7 separate regions of the Homo sapiens genome follow, and regions 2, 3, 4, 5, 6 and 7 are each linked to region 1. Evidence: promoter capture Hi-C in 16 types of primary human blood cells and fetal thymus (Javierre and others, 2016). All regions are on one chromosome and are shown on one strand. Each heading gives the region's core, a stretch centred on a gene start or on the middle of the fragment in contact. The rest is flanking DNA. Distances are from core to core; before and after follow the strand shown.

Region 1 (3,104 bases), core at 217-2,716:
AACAAACTTGGCACCATTAACAACACAATTTCCTTAACTCAGAATATTCTCTTGTATATAAATAAGCCTTCCTGAAAGTCAGAAATAGGATCTCCCTTTCTTGAACTTTTATAACACTTAATTGTATATATCATTCATTTTAAGTTAACGACCTCCTCACCTATACTGTAACTCTTTAATGGGTACCTGTTCTCTTTCCCTACACCGAAAATTCCTTGAGAGCAAAATCATGTCTAATTTAATTTCAAGCATCTATTGGGTATCTGGCCCCACAATGCCAAGAGTATATTTTGTTGATTGTTAATTAATCATCTTACTTTATTTAATACAAGTAATAGCTTTTCCTTGTTCTACTATAAACAGATCTGTACACTTTCTGGTGGCTGTATGCACCAGTCTAAACATATGGGTAGGGTCCAGTAATTTTTAAATTTTTTCTCAATAAACTCACGATAGCTACCATTTATTAGTGATAGCTAGCTAACCACTGTTAGGCACTTTACACGTGTATCTCATTGAATCCTCATATCCACCAGTGGTAGGCACTATTATCTCCATTTTACGGAAGAGAAAACTACTACATCTTGGAGATTAAATGTCTCTCCCTTCTCATGTTATTATCTGCCCTTTCCCCTCCAAATCAATTCATATCATTTTTTCTAAACCTTTTCACCTTTTACTCAACTAATCATTCGTTTTGTTTATTAACGACTATGTGCCAGGTGTTGTGCTGATGCAGGAGACAACCGCGAAGATGGGGACAGAATCAGTAACATCGACGTAAGGGAATTGAAGCAGAAGATCACGCTGCCTGCAGACACCAGGAAACGCCAAGACCCCCCTTCCACGAACCAACATTCTTCCACCCTCTCCAACTTTTTTCTGGAACCCCTTCACTTCCAACGCCACTCAATGTACACTTCACTTTCTCGTGCTCTTCCTAAGAGAGTAGTGTTTTCTTCCTCCCCACCGAGAAAAAAAATAAAAGCAACAACTGGAACTTCTTCCTTACCCTGCCTTGTCTGCAGACCCTGGAGGCCCCTTCCATTTCCCCTTGTCCTTTTCCTTGTCTTTTTTGGTTCCCGCCGCAGTGGTCGAGTCGCCCTCGAACACGCTGAACAGCTCATCTCCGAATGCGTCCGCCATTTTTGGGAGCAGTGAGAGCAAATCTCCCTCCTACCCACGATGCCCCGCGACCGAAGACAGTGACGTCTCGTGAAGGCTCAACAGTGGCCCGCAGGAGACAAAAGTAGTCGAGTCGCGCAGCCGACAAAAATGTTCCCCTGACTTTTTTTTTTTTTCCTGCTTTTCTTTCCTTTCCTTTCCGACCTAAAGTGGATAAGCTGCTCAGTGGATAAAGAGCGAGGGCGGCGCGTGGCGCCTGGCGTGTGGCAGGCAGCTGGCGACTCAAGGAGGCGGAGCCTGCTGAATTCGACCAATTGCGAGGCAGCGGTCGCCCCGGCCCGAGAAGCCCGGATCGAAGCGCAGGGTGGCAGCCCCGGAGCCGGGGAATGTGAAGAGCTCTCGGCTGTGCAGTGGTACCGTCGGGGCCTGGGCCGCGAAGGATCTTCTGCCACAGCTGCAACATGGGCGGCAAGAACAAGAAACACAAGGCTCCAGCGGCCGCGGTGGTCCGGGCCGCCGTGTCTGCTTCCAGAGCCAAATCTGCCGAGGCTGGAATTGCCGGGGAGGCCCAAAGCAAGAAGCCAGTGTCCAGGCCGGCCACCGCTGCCGCTGCCGCTGCCGGCTCCAGGGAGCCCCGTGTCAAGCAAGGTACGAGAGGTCCCCCAGCCCCTGGCTGTCTGCCCTGAGACCTTGCTGCTTGTCCTGAGGAAAGGGCCTTAGAACCCGGGAGGAGCTTCGGGCCCAACATTTCTATTTCCCAACACTCGAGCTGCTACCTCCCCATGGGGTGGCCTTGTTTTAGATTAAAAAAGTCTAAGCTCTTTGGGCCTCCAAAATTCTGACAGTAGCCCTGTTGCAGCCTGGCATTTCTCTTTTAACTCACACTTCTCCCCCTTCTAAAAACAAAATAATTGCATTAGCTCCTGTTTCAGCAGGAATTCATCCTGAGCACCATCTCAGCTAGCTAGGCTAACGCAAAGACGAGTACTGAGTGGAGTTCCTGACCTCCTGGTGCCAGCCAGCCCCATTTTCTGTCAGTTTTTCATATCATTTTCAGCAACAATCTAGTGTCTCCATGCGTTCTGGAAAAATCAATACTTAATAAAAATTACAGGACTTACACACTGGTTACACACTGGTTACGTGTAATCTATTGTAAAATTGTCTGCCCTCGTTTCTGCCGCCATGCAGTTTTGCTTACTGTACAAATTGATTTGACAACTCAACTTATAGATGGCCGATTCCTGCTGCAGATGAGCAGGCCACATATTACGGTTGAGCTCAAAAGATGAACAATTACATTCTGTTGTGTTCTTCTCGGGTTGTTTGCTTGTACTTATTGGAGTATTCAAGAAATATTTGCTGAGCATTTATGTGTATATATGCAAATATTTAGTATGTGTCTGATAAGATGTGAGGAATGTGATGAGCAAAAAGAGACATCACCTCATGGAGCTTGCCAGTCTAATGTCAGAGATAGGTATTAACTAATAGGTAACGCACACAGACATATTTATAGCCTTATAATAGATAAGTGCCACAAAGAAAAGCCAGGGAAGACAGTTTAACAGGGTAATCTAATTTTTCTCGGGATGAGCAGGTATCATGGATGGTGTCTGGAAATGTAACAGTTAAGCTGAGATGAGGAGAATGAAAAAGGAGTTAACTCTGTGAAGCATGGCAGAAATTAGTATTCCAGGCGGGCGTAATGAACATCATGTGTAAAAAGTTTGAGTCAGGAAAGAGCTTGGGGCTCTTGAGGAATTCACAGAACATAAAGCATCGCCAAAGGATGAAATGAGATGAGACTGAAAAAGTAGGCAGGTACCAGACCTTTACCTAGAAGGTGGAAACAGTTCTTTGCCCTGCGATTTATTGTAGTGTTAGCTACAGAGTTAGCATACTTGTAATTACAAATACATAGAATTTCTCCCTGACAACTATGGCAGTTTTATTCTGTGGATCAGCCTCTTTTTTAC
Region 2 (3,104 bases), core at 321-2,820, 690 kb before region 1:
TCTCTTCTTGGCATGGAAGGAGGGAACAGTATGTTGGATGCTGGCCCAGGAACCATTAGCAAATAGGTAATATGAGAGCCTGGAGTTGGAGGCCATGTTAGGAGACAAGACCAGAGAAGTAGGTAGAGGTCACGTAATGAGGGACTTCTATGACATACAAGAGGGATTTGGGTAATGGGAAGGGATTGACGGAGTTTTAAGGAGAGTGAGATGGTCAGATTTTCAGCACGGTACATGATAAAGATTAGAATTTTATTCTGGTTGCTTATTACTCCTAACAAAACAGTGACTTAAAACAAACATTTTATTATACCATACAAATTTTTGAGTCAGCAGTTTGGAAAGAATTCAGTTAGGCAGTTCTTCTGCTCTATGTGGCATTGACTGGGATCAGTTAGTATTATTCATCTCGTGGCTGGTCTGGTATGGAGGTTCCAAGATGGCTTTACTCACATGCCAAGTTCCTGGGCAGGGTCACTAGGAAGACTGGGATCAGCCGGGCCACTCCCCCTCTCCCTGTAGTCTCAGCTCTCTCCAGATGGTGTAATAAGGTAGATGGACTTTGTACACAGTGACTCAGGACTTCCACAGACCAAGGTGAAAGCTCCTCTTAAAAGCCAGACCCTGAACAAGCCTGCCTAAATTCAAGATGAAGGGAAATAGCCCTCAAATCTCTCCATAGAAGAGTATTGAAGAATTTGTGGCCATTTTAAATCCACTACAAGGTATAAAAATGTAGAACTGAAAGTAGAGAGAGGCAACTGACTTCTTATAATGCCCAGTTTCTGAAGTATTTATGTATGAGTACTTCCAGAATATTCTCTTAACATCTTCCTCATAGCACTGTAACATGGCTATGATTTTTGTATGATTGTTGGTTTATGTATTAGACTTTTGAGCTCCTCAATGAGGACAACACGTGTGTCTTCCTTAGATTAATATCTCAGTGCCTGGAACATAGTTGATGCTCAAAACTTATTGAATAAATAAATTGAATACATTAGAATGGTGGGATCCCGTCTTCACAACACCAGAGCAGCGTTCTGCTTGATATAATTTCCTTCTCCAGATTCGTATCTTCTTATGAACGTAAGAGAAGCTTGATTTAAATGTGTAGAAATAGTATCCATTATAAATATTTATGTGAATAGCTTTTAACTTTTCCCTGTTGTATTAGTTCTCCACTACATAACAAATTATCACATACTTGGCAGCTTAAAACAACACACATTTATTATCTCAGTTTCTGTGGTCAGGAGTCTAGGCACAGTTTAGCTGGGTTCTCTGCTTCAGTTCTCATGAGGCTGCAAACAAGTTGTTAGCTGAGGATGCTGTCTCATCTGAGGCTTGACTGGGGAAGGATCTGCTTTTGTTGGCAAAATTCAGTTCCTTGAGGTTGTAGGACTGAGAGATTTGGTTTCTTTCTCTCTTTTTTTTTTTTTTTTGAGATGGAGTCTCGCTCTGCCACCCAGGCTGGAGTGCAGTGGCGTGATCTCAGCTCACTGCAACCTCTGCCTCCTGGGTTCAAGAAATTCTCTCCCTCAGCCTCCTGGGTAGCTGGGATTACAGGTGCCTGCCACCACACCCAGCTAATTTTTGTATTTTTAGTAGAGATGGGGTTTCACCATCTTGGCCAGGCTGGTCTTGAACTCCTGACCTTGTGATCCACCCACCTTGGCCTCCCAAAGTGCTGGGATTAAAGGCATGAGCCACTGTGCCTGGCCGGGAGATTCAGTTTCAAAGCTAGCTGTTGGCAGAGTCTGCCCTCAGTTCCTTAACATGTGGGTCTTTCCATATCAAAGCTCAAACATGGCAGGCAGCTTGATTTTTCAGAGCCACAAGAGAGAGAGAGACACTAGCAAGATGGGCACTATCTTATATAACTCAATGACATACATGCCTTCACACTCAAGAGGAGGAAATCACACAAGGAATACCAAGAAGCAGGAGGTCATAGCATTTCTCCTAAGAGTCTATCTGTCATATATCCTTACATCCAAATAATGACTCTCATAATTTGATATATCACCAGATAAGCTTTGTTTCCAGTTTCATTTGACCCTGACATTAAATTTCATTTATTTATTTGTTAATTATGGAAGATGGCCATTCCGTAAATCCTGTGAAAAATCAGAGGGGACAATTATCAGAAAATTCCAGCCCTCTCAGGAAGTATATCCATTTCATTTTTACTTTACAGTAGGGACTGCCTTCCTCTCTTAAGGAGACAGATACACATTTGCCTAAACCATTATTTAATACAATTAGTACTAGATCTTTCTTCAGATCCTATGTAGGGGGCTGGGAATTCTTAGCTATACAAGCTCACACAATATATTTTTTAAAATTCATGTTGATACTTTTTCATCTATTTGGTTTTAGCACAAGTATCAGACTGGCAGCCAAGGAACCTATTTTGTAACTGCAGAATATTCTTTCCAGGAAGACTGGTGAAAGGAGAATCAACGAAGGAAAGCCCTTGCTTCTCAAACTCCCCCTGATAATATTCTGAAGCAAGTATAGTCCATTCCAAAGCTACAGTCCCAATACCTGACTTCCTTATCCTATGTATGTGTCTAGGAATAGGATGCACCTAACTGCTGCTCACATGTCTTGCACTGGCCTTTCCTTCTCTGAAGCCAAGCTTCCCTCTCAAAGAGTAACTCAAAATCATTGACCAGCCCATGGCTATTTGACCAGGGTTATCCCTGGAAGTCCACAGTATGGAGATCTCTGAGCTAGATCCCTTCCTCTGTGTTTACCTTTACAGAGCAGTGCTTATTTCTTTCTTTTTTTTTTTTGAGACAGAGTCTTGCTCTATCACCCAGGCTGGAGTGCAGTGGTGCAATCTCGGCTCACTGCAAGCTCCACCTCCCGGGTTCACACCATTCTCCTGCTTCAGCCTCCCAAGTAGCTGGGACTACAGGCGCCCACCACCACGCCCAGCTAATTTTTTGTATTTTTTAGTAGAGATGGGGTTTCACCGTGTTAGCCAGGATGGTCTCGATCTCCTGACCTTGTGATCCGCCCGTCTCGGCCTCCCAAAGTGCTGGGATTACAGGCGTGAGCCACTACGCCCGGCCACAGAGCAGTACTTATTTCAT
Region 3 (3,104 bases), core at 227-2,726, 680 kb before region 1:
TGATCTACCCACTTCGGCCTCCCAAAGTGATGGGATTACAAGTGTGAGCTACTGCGTCGGGCCCTTTATGATTTTAGATTAAGCAAAGACTTCTTAGATACATCAAAAACACAAATTGATGAATTGAACTTTATTAAAATTAAACCTCCTATTCGTCAAAAGATACTGTTAAAAGAATGAAAAGACAAGCATACAAGAAAATAATGCGTAAATCCATTTTCTAATAAAGGCCAGAATATCTTCTTAGAACTTTCAAAACTTAATGAGAAAACAGGAAACCCAGTTGATCAATATGTTTGAACAGACACATCATCAAAGAAGATATAGCCAAGCACACACCTGCCGTAGGGCCTAGCCATTCCACTCTTCACTTACCTTCTATTTTGGGGACACACACTATGTGTTAGTTTCCTAGGGGCTACTGTAATAGAGCATCCCTTTGTTACAGTATCCCTTACCTGAAATACTTAGTAACAGAAGTATATTGGATTTTGGATTTTTTTTTTTCAGTTTGTGTTGTATTTGCATTATATACTTAAAGTTAAGCATCCCAAATCCTAAAATCTGAAATCCAAAATGCCAGAGCTCAAAACGTTTTGGAATTAGAGCATTTCAGTTTTTAGATTTGGGATGTTCAACCTGTACCACAAATTGGGTGGCTCAAAACAACAAATTTATTCTCTCAAGGTTTTGGAGGCTAGAAGTCCTTTTGAGACTTTGGATAGAATCTTCCTTTGCCTCTCCTAGCTTCTGGTGGTAGCCATCGTCGTTGAGATTCCTTAGCTTACAGCTGCATAACTCCAATCTCTGCCTGTGTATTCACATGGTATTCTTCCTGGCTCTGTCTCTTTAAAGACACCAGTCATATTGTACTAAAGGCCTATTATACTCCACTATAACATCCAATTAAATCTGCCCATAGAGTAACATTTTGTGCTACTGGGGTTAAGACTTCAACATATTTTTTGGGGGGAACAGTTCAGCCCATAACAAACAAAAAGAAAATTAATTTAATTATATTGTATTTAGAACAGGGGTTGGCAAACTATAGCCCATAAGCCAAATCCAGCTTGCAGCCATTTTTATAAATAAAGTTGCATGGGAATATACCTATGCCCACTTATTTACATATTGTGTATGGCTGCTTTTGCACTTTAATAACGGAGTTAACTAATTGCAAGAGAGAACTTAAAGCCCACGAAATCTAAAATATTTATTATCTGGCCCTTTACAGAAAATGTTTGCTAGCCTATTTTAGAAGGTGTTAAGTGTTGTAGAAAAAAAAAAAATCAGTAAAGGGGTATAAGAAACACAGGGTGGTTAGGGAAGATCTCTATGAGGAGGTGAATTTGAGCAAAGGCTACAAGGAATTACTCTCTATATATTAACTTATGAAGATGTCCACTATGTAGTGTTAAGTGAAAAAGGTTATAAAACATTTCTCACTTACATGATCCCATCTTTGTAAAATAGAAAAGTGTGTATATTTATACAATGTAAAGTTATATAATACATGTATAAAAAATTTTGCAAGAATATCCACCAAAATGTTCATGGTAGTTATCTCTTGGTGGGATTATAGTGCACTTTCACATGGCATTTTTTCAGTTTCTTTTCATTAGACATTTAAAAAATATTTTTATAAATTTAATTCCTTATGTGTTATTAAGTTATATCAAAGGCTTAATGTGTATGAAACAATAATGGAAGATTCAACTCCTTGCCTAAGTTTGAAGTTACTTGTTGTATTTCAAAGAGGAGCACTAGTACTTAAGCTAGAATTTAAGTGAACAAATCTTAAAATGGATTTTTATCTCTGGTTACATAGAATAGTTGTTAGCAGGCTTAATTTAGTGCTAGTAGAAGAAGAAATATGTGATTGTTAAAGAACTCCGTCTGTCATAAATGTTCCTGTCATGTTTCTGTGACATTACATAGACGTCAGGGAAGTTTGCATTAGGTGTGGGTGAGCCAATAATGTTTGCAAGCGTATATCAAATCATAGCACTAGGGCTGGGCGCGGTGGCTCATGCCTGTAATCCCAACACTTTGGGAGTCTGAGGTGGGCAGATCCCTTTGAGCTCAGCCTGGGCAACATGGCAAAACACTATCTGTACTAAAAATAAAAAAATTAGCTAGGCATGATGGTGCCATCTCTAGTCCCAGCTACTCGGGAGGCTGAGGTGGGAGAATTACCTGAGCCTGGGAAGTTCAAGCTGCAGTGAGCTGTAATTGTGCTACTGCACTGCAGCCTGGTGATGGGAGTGAGACATTGTCTCAAAAAAAAAAAAAAAAAGCACTAGAATATTTGAATACTCTTATACAAGTGTTTATGGGTTTATTTTATTCTGAAGCTCAGAACATATCTAAAGTAGGATACTTTCTGCAAACCCAAAAGCCTAAGAGCAGATGGGGATTTTTAAAGTACACATATAATAAAATTATCAAAGCCAGCCTTCTGAACAAGACTCTCCTCTCTTTACAGTGAAACCCAATGGAAAAAGCATGACATTTAGAAGTAGAAGACTTAGCTTCAAATCCCTACTCCTTCACTTACTAATTTTGTGATTTGGGTAAGTAATTGATCTTGTCTGAATTTTTTGTTTTTTTATTTTACAAAGTTCCAATAAATAATCCCTGCCCTACTCACCTGATTCTTTAGGATATTAGGAGACTAAAGTGAAATAATTTATGTGACAACATTTTGTGTAATGTAAAATAATATCCTAGTGTTAATTGTTATGAACTCATAATTGATACTAATGGAAGAGAACAGAGTGGATAATTTAAAAACTAATTTAATAATTAGTTAATTTTGTGTAGGTATTACCAACTTCTGGCAGTTTATTCACAGTAACACTGTACTGTGAAAGATATATAGAAATTTTCTTCATCTTGATCCCCACGCAACTTATTAATTCAACAAGCATTATTTTGCCTTCTATTTGGCAATTTTAGTTCATATACTGTTCTACAATTGTAATAGTAATGTTACCATAGTAACAAAGTTTATATTGACATTCTTTTTCACATGCAATGTAAATCTAAATATATTCGTGCTTTTTATTTCATCCTTAGGTTAAGTTAGAAAATGAAAAAAAAAT
Region 4 (3,104 bases), core at 218-2,717, 650 kb before region 1:
GATGTGTTGATCATGAAGAGGCAATTACAGATGACAAAACAGAAGTGAGGACAGGCAGACCAGGAAGGCTGGGAAAAGGCTGCTGGTACAGGAGATTCAAGTAGATAAATACAGTGCCAGCACACAAACAGAATAAAGAACATGAAGTTATAAGAAAGAGTGATGCCTCTTTAGTTGTTGCTCAGAATACATTTTTACCTTTACAATTTTGAGGTTAGAAAAGAGTTCCAGTATAATTGATCAGGCTATCACCCTGACTAAAGGAAGAGCCAGGTGTTTTGTGCTGGGTTGGGAAAATGCTGGTATAAAGAGGTAGAGACACCATGCAATTGGAGGGCAAGAGTATTAAGAACAAAGTAAAAGAATAATTTGCAGAATTTTATTTTACTGTTAAAACCTTTTTATTTTAAGGAGTTTATGTCTTTTCTTTAGGACCATCTAAAGCACCAAGTTTCTGGTATAAAATAGATCCATCCCATACTCAAGGCTACAGAACTGTACAACTCGTGTGGAAGGTAAAAAATCACATTTATATTTTATCTCTTATAAATCTTTTTTTTTTTTTTTGAAACCGAGTCTCGCTCCATTGCCAGGCAGGAGTGTAGTGGCGTGATCTTGGCTCACTGCAACCTCTGCCTCCCAGGTTCAAGTGATTCTCCTGCCTCAGCCTCCTGAGTAGCTGGGACTACAGGTGTGCGCCACCACGCCCCGCTAATTTTTGTATTTTTAGCAGAGACAGGGTTTCACCACGGTGGCCAGGATGATCTTGATCTCTTGACCTCATGTTCTGCCTGCCTCGGCCTCCCAAAGTACTGGGATTACAGGCATGAGCCACCGCGCCCAGCCCTTATAAATACATTTTGTATGGTATTATGAATGGAGGTCTTTTAAATAGATAAATTTTTATTCATTTTAATAGCAAAGCATTTGATTACTATTTTTACTAAATAGAAAGGTAATGCTTTATATGTATTAATATTATATAGAAGTCAGGTTCATAAACTACAAATAATACCTTATAGGTATTTAAGTACAGTTCTGTGAAAGTATAAGTTCTATAAGAAGAGGAATGTTGTTTTTGTACTTTGGAATTTTCCAGAGTAACTCAGAAAATAATAAAAGTTTGTGATAATCAAAATGTATGCTGGTAAGTGCATGAGTAGATCATACTAAAAAAGAAGGTAGAAAAATACTCAAGCATAAAATAAATAATTTAGACCTACATAGCCACAGTGCAGAATTGATACAGAACCAAAAGCTAACGGAATGATGCTACTTACCCTTTTTTAGTTGAGGTCATGCTTTTACTCTTCATTTAGTATGTACTAGTTTTATTTTAGAACCAAATTTAAAATGGAGATTGTGAATCCTTTCCAGTTAAATATTTAGAGATTTGACATAATGGCATGATTTGTGAATATGAAGAAAAACTGATTTTTTATTCAAGATTTATGAGATTATTTTTAAAAATAAACTATTTTATTACAGACATTGCCTCCTTTTGAAGCCAATGGAAAAATCTTGGATTATGAAGTGACTCTCACAAGATGGAAATCACATTTACAAAATTACACAGTTAATGCCACAAAACTGACAGTAAATCTCACAAATGATCGCTATCTAGCAACCCTAACAGTAAGAAATCTTGTTGGCAAATCAGATGCAGCTGTTTTAACTATCCCTGCCTGTGACTTTCAAGGTTTGTATCTGTGAGATGGAGCCTGACTCTTGGGTGGAAAAATGGTGGTTAGGTATGGACAGGGCTCCCATAAAAAACACAAGTTATCTAAGACTGTCTCCTCAGTATCAGGGATAATCACTTGTTTATTTTTTAATTTTTTAAATTTTATAAATAATGATTTTCTTTTTTTCAGAGACTGGGTCTCGCCAGGTTGCTCAGGCTGGTCTCGAACTCCTGAGCTCAAGCGATCTCCCCTGGCCTCCCAAAGTGCTGGGATTAACAGGCATATGCCACCAAACCCAGCTAGTGATCGCATTTTTAGGAATCAGTCAGCAGACAAATTTCATCAGGATGCAAGAACATTTCCATCACTACATGCTCACTTAAACTTCACAGTAAGCTACTTCATTCATTTAAGCATATTCTGATTACTTACCTGGTTTTTAAAATATTATTTCAAGATTTTGAGAACTTTGTATACATATGACTGAAACGTTTATCTGTAGCTTTATTCGTAGCTTTCAAAGAAGAAAAATTGCAATTACAAACCGAAAGCATTTGAAGAATTTAGGGAAAGCAAATTTTTTTTTTTCTTTTTGAGACAGTCTTGCTCTGTCGCCTAGGCTGGAGTGCAATGGCACGATCTCAGCCTCTGCCTCCTGGCTTCAAGCGATTCTTGTGCACCAGCCTCCCAAGTAGCTGGAATTAAAGGCACGCACCACAATGCCTGGCTAATTTTGTATTTTTAGTAGAGACGGGGTTTCACCGTGTTGGCCAGGCTGGTTTCGAACTCCTGATGTCAAGTGATCCACCTGCCTTGGCCTCGTAAAATGTTGGAATTACAGGAATGAGCCACAGTGCCCAGCGGGGAAGCAAAATCTAAGTTTAAAAATTGACTACTTTACCTGTAAGTTATAATAAAGTGCTTTTAGGCAAGGAAGTATATGCTACAAAAATTGATAAATCACATGTTTTGGAAATGACTGTAAAATATGGAAATTTCAAATTTGTTAATATTTATTATTTCAATATTCAAACTTTGTTTTAAAGCTACTCACCCTGTAATGGATCTTAAAGCATTCCCCAAAGATAACATGCTTTGGGTGGAATGGACTACTCCAAGGGAATCTGTAAAGAAATATATACTTGAGTGGTGTGTGTTATCAGATAAAGCACCCTGTATCACAGACTGGCAACAAGAAGATGGTACCGTGCATCGCACCTATTTAAGAGGTATACCTGGCTAGAAACATCTAAATTGATATCCTTTTTCTAACTCTTTAGGCAGCTTTTTCTTTTGCTTATAGTGTTTTGGTCCGTTGAAACGACTTCCAATTTATCATAGCCTCACTACTTACTAGATGTGTGACTTTCAGCAAGTCATACTTAACCTCTCTGAATTACAGTCTCTTTATGAACAGAG
Region 5 (3,104 bases), core at 304-2,803, 630 kb before region 1:
GTAAATGTAGAAGTAGAATAATCATAGAATTCCCTAAAATATTTCTGTTTACTAACATATATTGACCAAGTACATCAAGCAGGAGAGATCTTCCTTCATTCTGTTATAGTCCACATCATTCTAATTTTGCTCAGTTGTTATTAAGAGCATATTCCTAAACCATACACTTTTGTTTCAATAAAGTTTTATTTTGTTGAGATGAATAAAATAACAAAGTTATAAGCTGCATAAGACAAAAGTTCAATTGTTCAAAAAAAATTTACTGGGATAGCTTTCTATTACAGGTATTGTTAGATTATATTGTGCTGATAAGATTACTTTCTAAAAAATTTGTACTTTTCTGTAAATTAAAAGAATATGGAGTCATAAAATGGCAAGTGTTTTAGGATTAGCCTAAAATTGGACATTGTCATTGATTTCAAAGAAGGTATGAACTAGCAGTCTTACAGCCTAATTCTTCTTTGGACTGGTCCTTGGCAGCAGTTCCTTTTCAGACTCGATAAACAGAATTCAGATGATGTAAGTCAAAACAAAACTTTACAAAGCCAAGCGTATTATCTTTTGCATTAACCTATTTTTTTCCATCATACATGCTACTAGTATGTGCATTAGCATGATATTCTCATATACATTGCATTAAAAATTAAAAGGTGGCAGCTCAGGGTGAGCTCTTCTGTTGCTCATTTGTTCCTAAATTTTTAAGGGCTTTTTCTCAGTCAATAGTTTGTACAAACTGGTTAGTTTAACTTCATTACCCATTTCATTAAAGTTGATGGGTCGTGTGATGAGATGCATTTAAGGCCGATAGTGATAGATGTTTTTTTTATTTCTTGAACACAGGCTTTGTCTGAATGATGTTCTTTTATCTCTTGAACACAAGCTTTGAATGATAACTACAGGTTTTAAGTGCTGTTACATTAATACCATAATGTGATGTGTTAGAAACAAAGGGATATTTCAAAGGTAGATATTTGAAAATTCTCTAGTCTCAATATGTATGTGTATTGAATATACTCTAAAAATAAATGTGCAATTTGCTAGTAGGACAATGCAGTGACTGACTAGCATTAGGTATGTTTCTTTTATATCCTAGCTATGTCCCACTTTCTTCTAAGTGCAATCCTTTCATGTTCACTTGCTGTTTTACCCCATCTACTCTAACTTCATTTGGAAGGCTTGTCTAGAGTATAGCATGTATTTTTACCTTTGCAGTGAATTGCATGTGCTAATTGTAACCACAGCTATTTTTATGTTGACATAACTCCAAATGTTATATTAAATGTTCTATTATATATTAGCTCTAATCCCTTAAGTAAATTTTAAGAAATAAATACTTGTTCAAATTTTTTTTCTGTATGTGGTTACTATCATCTGACTATGCATATTTGTAACAGCATTTATCATTAGTGGTGTTAGCTAAATAAGCATCTTAGTGTAAATGAGATGCTTCGTGTGGGTTTTGTGACATTTTAAATGACATAATGGAATGTGATTTAAAAGAAAACCAGTACACTATCTTGGTCTTAATAACATAGAATGGAGATGGCAAATTTATCCACTAGTTTTCCAGATTTACTATTTAATAGCTGAGGTCTGAAATCGTAGCATCCTCCCTCCTAGTGGACATTAAAAAAAAAAAAAAAAAAAAAAACCTACTTGGTTGTCAAGAGCCCAAGTATGGAGGTGCTGCGCCATCTTGTGGCCTGTCTGTGCCCACCCTGCACTCTGCTGGAGTCTCCATCCTTGTTGCAGTGAGACTTGAAGTTCAAGATTGATACATGGCATCCTCCTGCTACTTCTTGAGGTTACTAAGTAGTATATGAAACTAATCAGTCAGCAAGTCCACCTGGAAGGAAAAGAAAATCTCAACTATTAATGTGCCTTCACATTGTGATTTTGTCTAAAAAAATGTAGTGAGTCAAAAAACCCACAAGCCAGCCAACAGTAACTCCTTCACATATATACCAGAGTTTATAGAAATAACATGTCAGCTTTGGGCTATGTGCTCCTTTGTTTAAAATCTTCTATTTGGTTATGGCTTGTATAGGCTCAAGCCTGATTTCTTTAAGGTGTGGTGGCTCATCTTATCCTAATGTGTATGATAGATACAGTCCATCCTGCTTTGGAAAAGATTATGTAACTCCTTGAGAGCATACTCTTTCTCTAGCCCAAAGGCAGTGAGAGAGTTTTCTTGTTCAGGATTGCTTAACTTTCCATTTAAGCTTTTTCTTTTTAAATTAATACAAACTTCTACACTTTCAAAATACGAAATATATTACAACTGCGTATAGGCTCTTCCATACTTAAGTCCAGTGCTTGGGCAAGTTAATGGAGTGAAAGACTACAAGCAAAGAGGAACTGAGGTAGAAAAAGAAGAATGTGTGAAAGCAGCAGGAAGCTCAGCCAACTCGAAAGCAGGGTGAACAGCTTGAGTCCTGTTGCTGCTGATCGGGGTTGGCTCTTGGACAACTTAGTAAGATCATGGAAAGGCTGCTTGGGTTCTCCATAGAAAAGTTCTGTCTCCATCAAGGGAGGAAAATGTACCTTTCAACTCAAAATTCAATATTTGTTTTTAAATATAGCTATTTTCCCCAACCGCTAAAGATTTTCAACAGATACGAAGCCAGAGCTTAGTTTTAGAAACCTGTGGACATTCAAACCTGATTCTTTATTCCCTGTGACTATGGTTATGTCATTTTACATGTCAAAAAAGTGTATCTAGAATTGTCATTTCTTATTTTTGAGCTTTTTTTAGTGAGAATTATCCCCTCACTTAAATGGCTTTTTATTTAAACATCTGTGCATTCTGTATGAAATTGTAGTCTTTCTGGGATAACATGGTGAGCTATATGGTGGTAATCCACACACACAAAAATAAAAGCCAAAAAAAAACCAAAACCCTCAGGTAAAGTATTTCTCTTTCTTCAACTGTCTCATTAGCCCTGGCTGTGGATGGTCTTTCTGAGACAGGCTAGCCAGAGTAATTCAACGGCCACAAGTGGTTTCTCCCCCAGAGTGCTGGTTCAAACTCTGAATGAGACCAGCCTGTTGATTAGAAATCTAATACCTCAGTCCAGGCCTACTTTCCTAGAACAATCTTCACT
Region 6 (3,104 bases), core at 214-2,713, 610 kb before region 1:
AGCCAGCAATCCACACTTTCGTGAAAGGCTCCACTAACTGTCACAAGCTCTGTGCTCAGCTAGAGAAAAGGAGCAGAAGTCCTCCTGTTGGGGCTGCAAATTTGCTAGGCATTGCATGTTCCCAGGCCCTGCCCTGCTGCTTCCGGGAAGAGGCCTTTTAAGTAAGCATTCCTGGGCTCTGAACCAGTGTGAGGGGCCAGCGTCCCTATATGACAACCACTGCAATGTCAGGTGCCTTTCTGCTCCCAGGCTGGGTGCTGAATAGAAGGGCAGCAGCAGCTGGGAAGTGGCCCCCTGGAGACTGGACAGAGCTGCGCCCGGCAGCATACATTCCCCAGGGCCCTCCCCATTCCTTGATTTTTTAGTAGTCAATGCAGTCTAAATTGGGGGTGAGGATTCTCAGGTGCGGTGTTGCTACAGGCACTTGAGATCTAAGAGGATGTGAGGAGCCTCAGACAACCCCTTAGGAAGGTCCACTCCACCTCCAGCCCCAACTATGGGGAGAGAGGAAGGCTTCAGGGCTACCTTGTAGGGGAAGACCAGAGCCCAGGCTCCCACCAGACCACCCAAGAGCCAACAAAACAACTGTCCTCTGGCAGCAGGGAAAGGCCTTCTGGAACTCTGAGGCTCAGCCCCAGCAAAGGCTGGGACCATGACCCAATTCCTGGGAGGCCAGATATGTCCACCCTGGGGGTCCTTTGGGCTCAGAACCTGGGCCCTTCCTTCAAAGTCAATCTGTCAGGAGGCCTCGGTGAGAGCTTGGTATCTGAACAAACGAAAAGAGACTGCTGTTCCTTTACAAAACTCGGGCTTATCACCATCCCTTCTTCCCAGTACAAGGTCGCATCTTTGCCGACCAAGTTCAACTGGCAGCTCAAGGGGCAGGGGAAACTTTAACCTAGGCAGGATGTGGCAGGGCCAAGCAAGCGCTGCGTGCCGAGTCTTGACATCTTCTCTGGCAAGGGCCATCCACACTGAGGCCCCGAGGGTCTCATGCTATGGTCGCATTTAGACTTCTCCCTTGGTGTGCTCTGGAAGTTTTTCAGACACAAGAAATTCCCTGGCTGTCACTGAATTTTTCAAATATGGATTTGGGGCTCCTTCCTCACACAGATGATCTGGTACTAAACTTTGACCAGAAAAGAGAAGCTGCTCTTTGGCTTCTGGGCGGGTCCCCTCTGGCATCCTCGAACGTAGGTATTGGGATTTTCTGGGCGGAATCTCAGGTGAAACTGGGAGCTCCTCAAAACTTTTCCCCAGGGGACAATCAGGCCTGAAGGGGCAGGTCACATACCCATTCTTTTCCCCTCCTAAATTGTTTTCCTGACCCGTTCTGGCTTCATCTGTGAAAATTTCTTGCAGAACATTCCCAAAGTTCACCACCAACTTGTCAATCACCAACTTGTCACTGGGGGTGGAACATGGTTTTAAGATCCTGTCTTCTGTGTTCACAGAGTCATCAGACTCCTTCAGGTTTAGCTTATCCTGGAAAAGAAAAAGGGACATCCCAAGTGGTCATTTAGGAGTCACATATGACATAGCCAAAAACTCGTTAGGCTTGGGACAGCAAATGCCCATCTCTGGAACAGCCCCCACCTTCCTCCCAGGCCCAGAAGTGGTAGCCAACCCTCTCTGCATGCCCTTCCACAGAGCTTGGAAGGAGTGGCACATTTCCTGAGAAACAGTGCCCTGGATTCAAACAATTTTTAAAATTTATTTATTTATATGTATATAATTTTTTTTTTTTTGAGACAGGGTCTCACTCCCGTTGCCCAGGCTGGAGTACAGTAGCATGATCACCACTCACTGCAGCCTCAACTTCTCAGCCTCAGGTAATTCTTCCCCCTCAGCTTCCTGAGTAGCAGGGGCTACAGATGCACACCACCATACCTGGCTACTTTTTAATTTTTTGTAGAGATGGGGTTTTGTCATGTTACCCAGGCTGGTCTTAAACTCCTGAGCTCAAGCAATCCCCCCTGCCTTGGCCTCCCAAAATGCTGGGATTATAGGCATGAGCCGCTGTACCCAGCCAATTCAAACAATTTCTTCTGCTAGAGTGTGCAAGGCTATTTTCCACACAATCCCATGTTCACAAAACCCCAGTTAAGATGGAAGAACTAAAATTAGAACTCTTAGGGATGGAAAAACCACATCATAGAGACAGACTTGTTCAACCTCACCAGAAAATCAGAAGTGGCCTCATGGCAGGGACAGTGACTTTGTCATTTGTATCCCTAGGGCCTAGCCCAGCACCTGGCATGTAGTGAGTGATTAATAAGTGCCGGCTCTAGAGGTCCAACCTACGGATTATTCAAAAAGCATGTTAGTTATCAGAGAGCACTGCCTATGAATCCATTTACTCTCTAAATGACATTTAATAAGCAGGAAAGTAAATGGGGGTATAAATCAGTCCAGTATACCGGACTGATAAGAGGAGGAAACAGAAAGAAAGCCCATTATAACAAAAGGCCCATGCTCAAAAAAGACTTCTGAGTGGGAACGAGGACTAATATTTAAAATTTGTGCATCAAGGAAAAACTGGAAACAGCCTTTCAGTAACAAGGATTTAAAGGTTATATTTGATTGGGCTTGTTTCTACGTAAGCAAGAAATTAAACCTTAAAATTTCCCTAACGGTTTTCCACTTAAAAATTTATGCAAATGGAGGGTTTCTAGTTAAGGAATACTCACTAGAAAACCCCAATGCCAGTTAAATAAAGCCTGACTCTGACGTCCCCAGCCTGAGAAAAACAACCTGAGGCAGCCTCAGACTGCCATGCCCATCAACATTCCCTGGTGATATTTAGACAGTCTTTAGATTAATGTGCTCTTGGCTGCTTTGTAAATGGCTTCAAATCCTATAGCCAAGGCTCCTCTCTCTCTAATTAGCCCATCAGGTCAGGAAGGGTAGGGCCAGTGTCTTTATTCTGCAGCATCCTTTATGGGACCAGTTCCACCTGGGAACGCACTGGGTCCTCATGAGCCTGGTGAAGCCCTTTCCCCTTGTCAAAGCATGAAGTCAAAGTCATTCCAGGAAGGCTGAGTCCATCTGCCCTGCCTGCCATTCCCTGAGACTTTTCAACTCCAGTTCTCTTGATGTGAACC
Region 7 (3,104 bases), core at 451-2,950, 590 kb before region 1:
TGACACAGATAACTCACAAGGAGATATATGTATATACAATTTATACCAAGTCTACTTCCAAAAAAATAAAACCACATACTTGAGATGTTATAAAATAAAAGAAAAAATTAAATGACAAAGGAATAAGACAATAAGCTTCACTAGGTCCCTCCTTGAGCTCTAAATTTAACGCTGGTTTTCCCAAAATAAAAAAGAATCACATTGAGGTGCCTATTTCCCATGGCCCAATAAAAAGGAAACCTAGAAATTCATATGAAGGGAAACTATTTTCTGGTTACGAACACTGAAATCATAAATGGAATTTATCACGTGGATCTTTTCAAAAAGGACAGAGAGTAACGTAAAAGCCAATATCTGTAATCCCAATAGAGCAAAAGCACAGAAATATCATATATGTGCATTTTTCATAGCTGTTTTCTATAAATAGCCAGGGCATAAATCCTGACACATGCCTTTTTCCAGTAAACAACACAGTCTGAGACAATAGTCCAAGTGTACAGGCTTCTGATGATCTAACCATATAGGGATGAAACAAAAAACAAGGAATTTACATTTCACTTGATTTCTGGACTGTATCTCTCAAATATCCTGTCTCAAGCAAGTTTTGTCAGGAGATGGCTCACTGGCAATTTATAGTTGAATGCCCTGACATGCACCTGAAATATCAAAATGCTGAGCTACTGATTAGAGAACGACCCACCCACCTTAGCCATGAGAGGAAAGCAGAGAGTTCTAAACAAATGTCGAGACGGCTAGCGGCCCACGATTTGGAGAAGAGAGTAAATGTCCCTAGTCAAAGCTGCAGTAGTTGCACTCTGAATTTTTTCTTGAGGAAGTAGCATGGCTGGAGATAATGTAATTAGGTCCACAAAGAATGAGTCTACCACTCAGACCAATATCTAAACTATTTTTTAGAAGTAAGAGATTGTCTTCAGGGATCTTTTAAACTGTAGGTGATTGGATATCTTAAAGTAAAATTACTGGCTGGGCACGGTGGCTCATGCCTGTAATCCCAGCACTTTGGGAGGCCGAGGCAGGTGGATCACTTGAGGTCAGGAGTTCGAGACCAGCCTGGCCAATGGTGAAACCCTGTCTCTACCAAAACATATAAAAAATTAGCTGGGTGTGGTGGTGTGTGCCTGTAATCCCAGCTACACGGGAGGCTGAGGCAGGAGAATCGCTTGAACCCGGGAAGCGGAGATTGTGGTGAGCTGAGATCGCGCCATTGCATTCCAGCCTGGGAAACAGAGCGAGTCGTGTCTCAAAAGAATTGTTTTTAAAAAAGTAAAATAACTGAACTCCAGCTAAAGACAACCTTATAATGAGGAAAATGTACCAAGTACAATTGAGTTAATAACTTGTTTTGCCTTTAATGGAGAGTCACACTTCTACAACTACTCTTGCAGAAGCCAAAGTCTAGTTAACACAGTCTAGCTGTTAGGCCCAGGATCTCCCAATGAGATAAATGCAATTCCATTAGAATTGCTTATAAGGATATTGAACTGTGTTGACTTTACATATTATTTCATCTGAATCCCACTGAGGTGTTGTCTCAAAAGCTCTGCCATGAGTTTTCTGATTTCTCAAAGGCTTTTATTGAATCATAAGACAGGACAGCCGGTACTCAAATTTCTCAGACAGGAAGCAACAGGCTGGTTTCACCCTGTCTACAAGCCAGTGAGATGTAAGCAGTGGCCAAGTTCCTCCCAGAAGACAGCCTTTGTACAGGACTACAAAGTCATTAGACCTTCCAAGGAAACCCGCAGGATTAGAGGGACCTTTACTCCATCTCTCACGTGCAGAATCTCTCTGTTCCAATCATGTGGAGAGTCAAACTTAAGGCCAGTAATATTGAGAGTAAGAAAAAAAAAAAAATCTAAAGACAAGGTGTTCATTACTACCCAGTCCTAAATATTCATCTCAAGGATAGATACAGGCAAAGCTAAACTGATTATTAAATAATCATTCCAGGCACTTGACTAGAAATATGAGTGAAATTCTTCTTGGATTTAGCCCATAGGCAGCCAGGCATGGTGGCACACACCTGTAGTCCCAGCTATTCGGGAGGCTGAGGTGGGAGGATCACTTGAGCCTGGGAGGCGGAGGCTGCAGTGAGCTGAGATCTCACCACTACATTTCAGTCTGGGTGACAGAGTGAGACCCCGTCTCAAAAAAAAAAAAAAAAAAAATTATCTCATAGGCAGCCATTTTGTTTTTGTAGATGGTAATAATAAATGAGTTTAAATTGATATTTTCTTCTTTCATTGAGGCCACTATTTCCTGCAAATATGGTCCAAAGAGAGACAGTCTTCTCAGTATAGACTTCCCACAGATGCAGCTGTTAGTGAAACTGCTGCCTCACTACCATGTAAGTCTTCTATAGTTATTATAGCCAGCTTTCCATTAACCGTAAATTGATCATGGATTTTCAGTTTAATCAAAGGGGGAAATGTAAGGACTCTGAAAAAAAAATTAAAATTTTCCAAATCAACCAAAATGTCTACATATTCAAAGGCATCAATTGTCTGGACTGATGCAGCAACAATTGATGCTATACCATTTCTATGACAGTATGGGCATCCCCACAACCAGCAGCAGTTAGACATGTGCAGGTGCCCCTGCTAGAGACCAACAATAATACAAGCTAGCTCTTAGCAAGTGTCAGTTTCTCTGAATTTTCTCATTTAATGCCCACAGCCCTGTAATCAGATACAGCAATAATGTTACTAATCATCATTTCTGAAGCACAGAGAAATTAAGCAGGTATTCAATATCATAAGCGTTTAAGAAATAAAGCCAGGATTTGAATCAAATTATTTCTGTATCATGTAGTGAGTAGATATTTAAATGCCTAAATATAGGTAAGTAACTCTAATAATCAATATATTGAAATCCAAAATAAAATAGGCAGTGCTTCACATTCAACTTAGAATACATGTTTTGAAACAATTAGAGAGGTTTGAAGTGGTACGCATTAAACAAATGGCATTTCATTGAAATAGGAAAACACACGCTTTATAAATTTGAAAACAAGAAATGAGGATTGGCTGGGGGGTGCATTTTAATCAGTTTCTTCTGGGATCCTGAAAAAATGAAGAAGGACA

The links. Contacts are between HindIII fragments. The CHiCAGO score rates a contact against its expected background, and 5 or more counts as called.
Region 2: a fragment that was not itself captured here is called in contact with the fragment with the promoter of DHX29 in region 1 in 1 of 17 cell types (fetal thymus); the score reaches 6.2 in fetal thymus.
Region 3: a contact is called between a fragment that was not itself captured here and the fragment with the promoter of DHX29 in region 1, in 1 of 17 cell types (fetal thymus). The highest score is 6.9, in fetal thymus.
Region 4: a contact is called between a fragment that was not itself captured here and the fragment with the promoter of DHX29 in region 1, in 1 of 17 cell types (monocytes). The highest score is 5.0, in monocytes.
Region 5: a fragment that was not itself captured here is called in contact with the fragment with the promoter of DHX29 in region 1 in 1 of 17 cell types (fetal thymus); the score reaches 6.3 in fetal thymus.
Region 6: a contact is called between a fragment that was not itself captured here and the fragment with the promoter of DHX29 in region 1, in 2 of 17 cell types (endothelial precursors and megakaryocytes). The highest score is 8.8, in endothelial precursors.
Region 7: a fragment that was not itself captured here is called in contact with the fragment with the promoter of DHX29 in region 1 in 1 of 17 cell types (endothelial precursors); the score reaches 5.4 in endothelial precursors.

Annotation. Positions count from the first base shown.
Region 1 is chr5:55,306,056-55,309,159 of GRCh38, reverse strand. DHX29 (DExH-box helicase 29) reads left to right here and starts at 1,466. Exons shown (of 27, transcript NM_019030.4): 1 at 1,466-1,773. The coding sequence starts at 1,587. It overlaps MTREX (Mtr4 exosome RNA helicase), which reads right to left and starts at 1,171. Exons shown (of 27, transcript NM_015360.5): 1 at 1,013-1,171. The coding sequence starts at 1,146. It overlaps LOC124900979 (a long non-coding RNA gene), which reads left to right. Exons shown (of 2, transcript XR_007058774.1): 2 at 723-1,011. RefSeq lists enhancers at 918-1,397, 1,538-1,797. The HindIII fragment of the contact is 7,705 bases long and covers 1-3,104 here.
Region 2 is chr5:56,000,765-56,003,868 of GRCh38, reverse strand. IL6ST-DT (IL6ST divergent transcript) reads right to left here. Exons shown (of 2, transcript NR_102755.1): 2 at 220-2,120. Among named protein-coding and RNA genes, the nearest start is that of IL6ST-DT, 7.2 kb to the right of the region's middle. RefSeq lists an enhancer at 414-708. The HindIII fragment of the contact is 938 bases long and covers 1,102-2,039 here.
Region 3 is chr5:55,982,193-55,985,296 of GRCh38, reverse strand. It overlaps IL6ST (interleukin 6 cytokine family signal transducer), which reads left to right. Exons shown (of 17, transcript NM_002184.4): 2 at 2,486-2,573. Among named protein-coding and RNA genes, the nearest start is that of IL6ST, 11 kb to the left of the region's middle. The HindIII fragment of the contact is 3,957 bases long and covers 1-3,104 here.
Region 4 is chr5:55,954,620-55,957,723 of GRCh38, reverse strand. IL6ST (interleukin 6 cytokine family signal transducer) reads left to right here. Exons shown (of 17, transcript NM_002184.4): 9 at 433-515; 10 at 1,489-1,699; 11 at 2,732-2,914. Among named protein-coding and RNA genes, the nearest start is that of IL6ST, 39 kb to the left of the region's middle. The HindIII fragment of the contact is 4,335 bases long and covers 1-3,104 here.
Region 5 is chr5:55,934,889-55,937,992 of GRCh38, reverse strand. It overlaps IL6ST (interleukin 6 cytokine family signal transducer), which reads left to right. Exons shown (of 17, transcript NM_002184.4): 17 at 1-2,898. Among named protein-coding and RNA genes, the nearest start is that of IL6ST, 59 kb to the left of the region's middle. The HindIII fragment of the contact is 1,342 bases long and covers 883-2,224 here.
Region 6 is chr5:55,915,025-55,918,128 of GRCh38, reverse strand. It overlaps IL31RA (interleukin 31 receptor A), which reads right to left. Exons shown (of 15, transcript NM_139017.7): 15 at 1-1,485. The coding sequence ends at 1,009. Among named protein-coding and RNA genes, the nearest start is that of IL31RA, 65 kb to the right of the region's middle. The HindIII fragment of the contact is 5,310 bases long and covers 1-3,104 here.
Region 7 is chr5:55,892,895-55,895,998 of GRCh38, reverse strand. All of the region lies in intron 6 of IL31RA (interleukin 31 receptor A), which reads right to left. Among named protein-coding and RNA genes, the nearest start is that of IL31RA, 43 kb to the right of the region's middle. The HindIII fragment of the contact is 3,126 bases long and covers 138-3,104 here.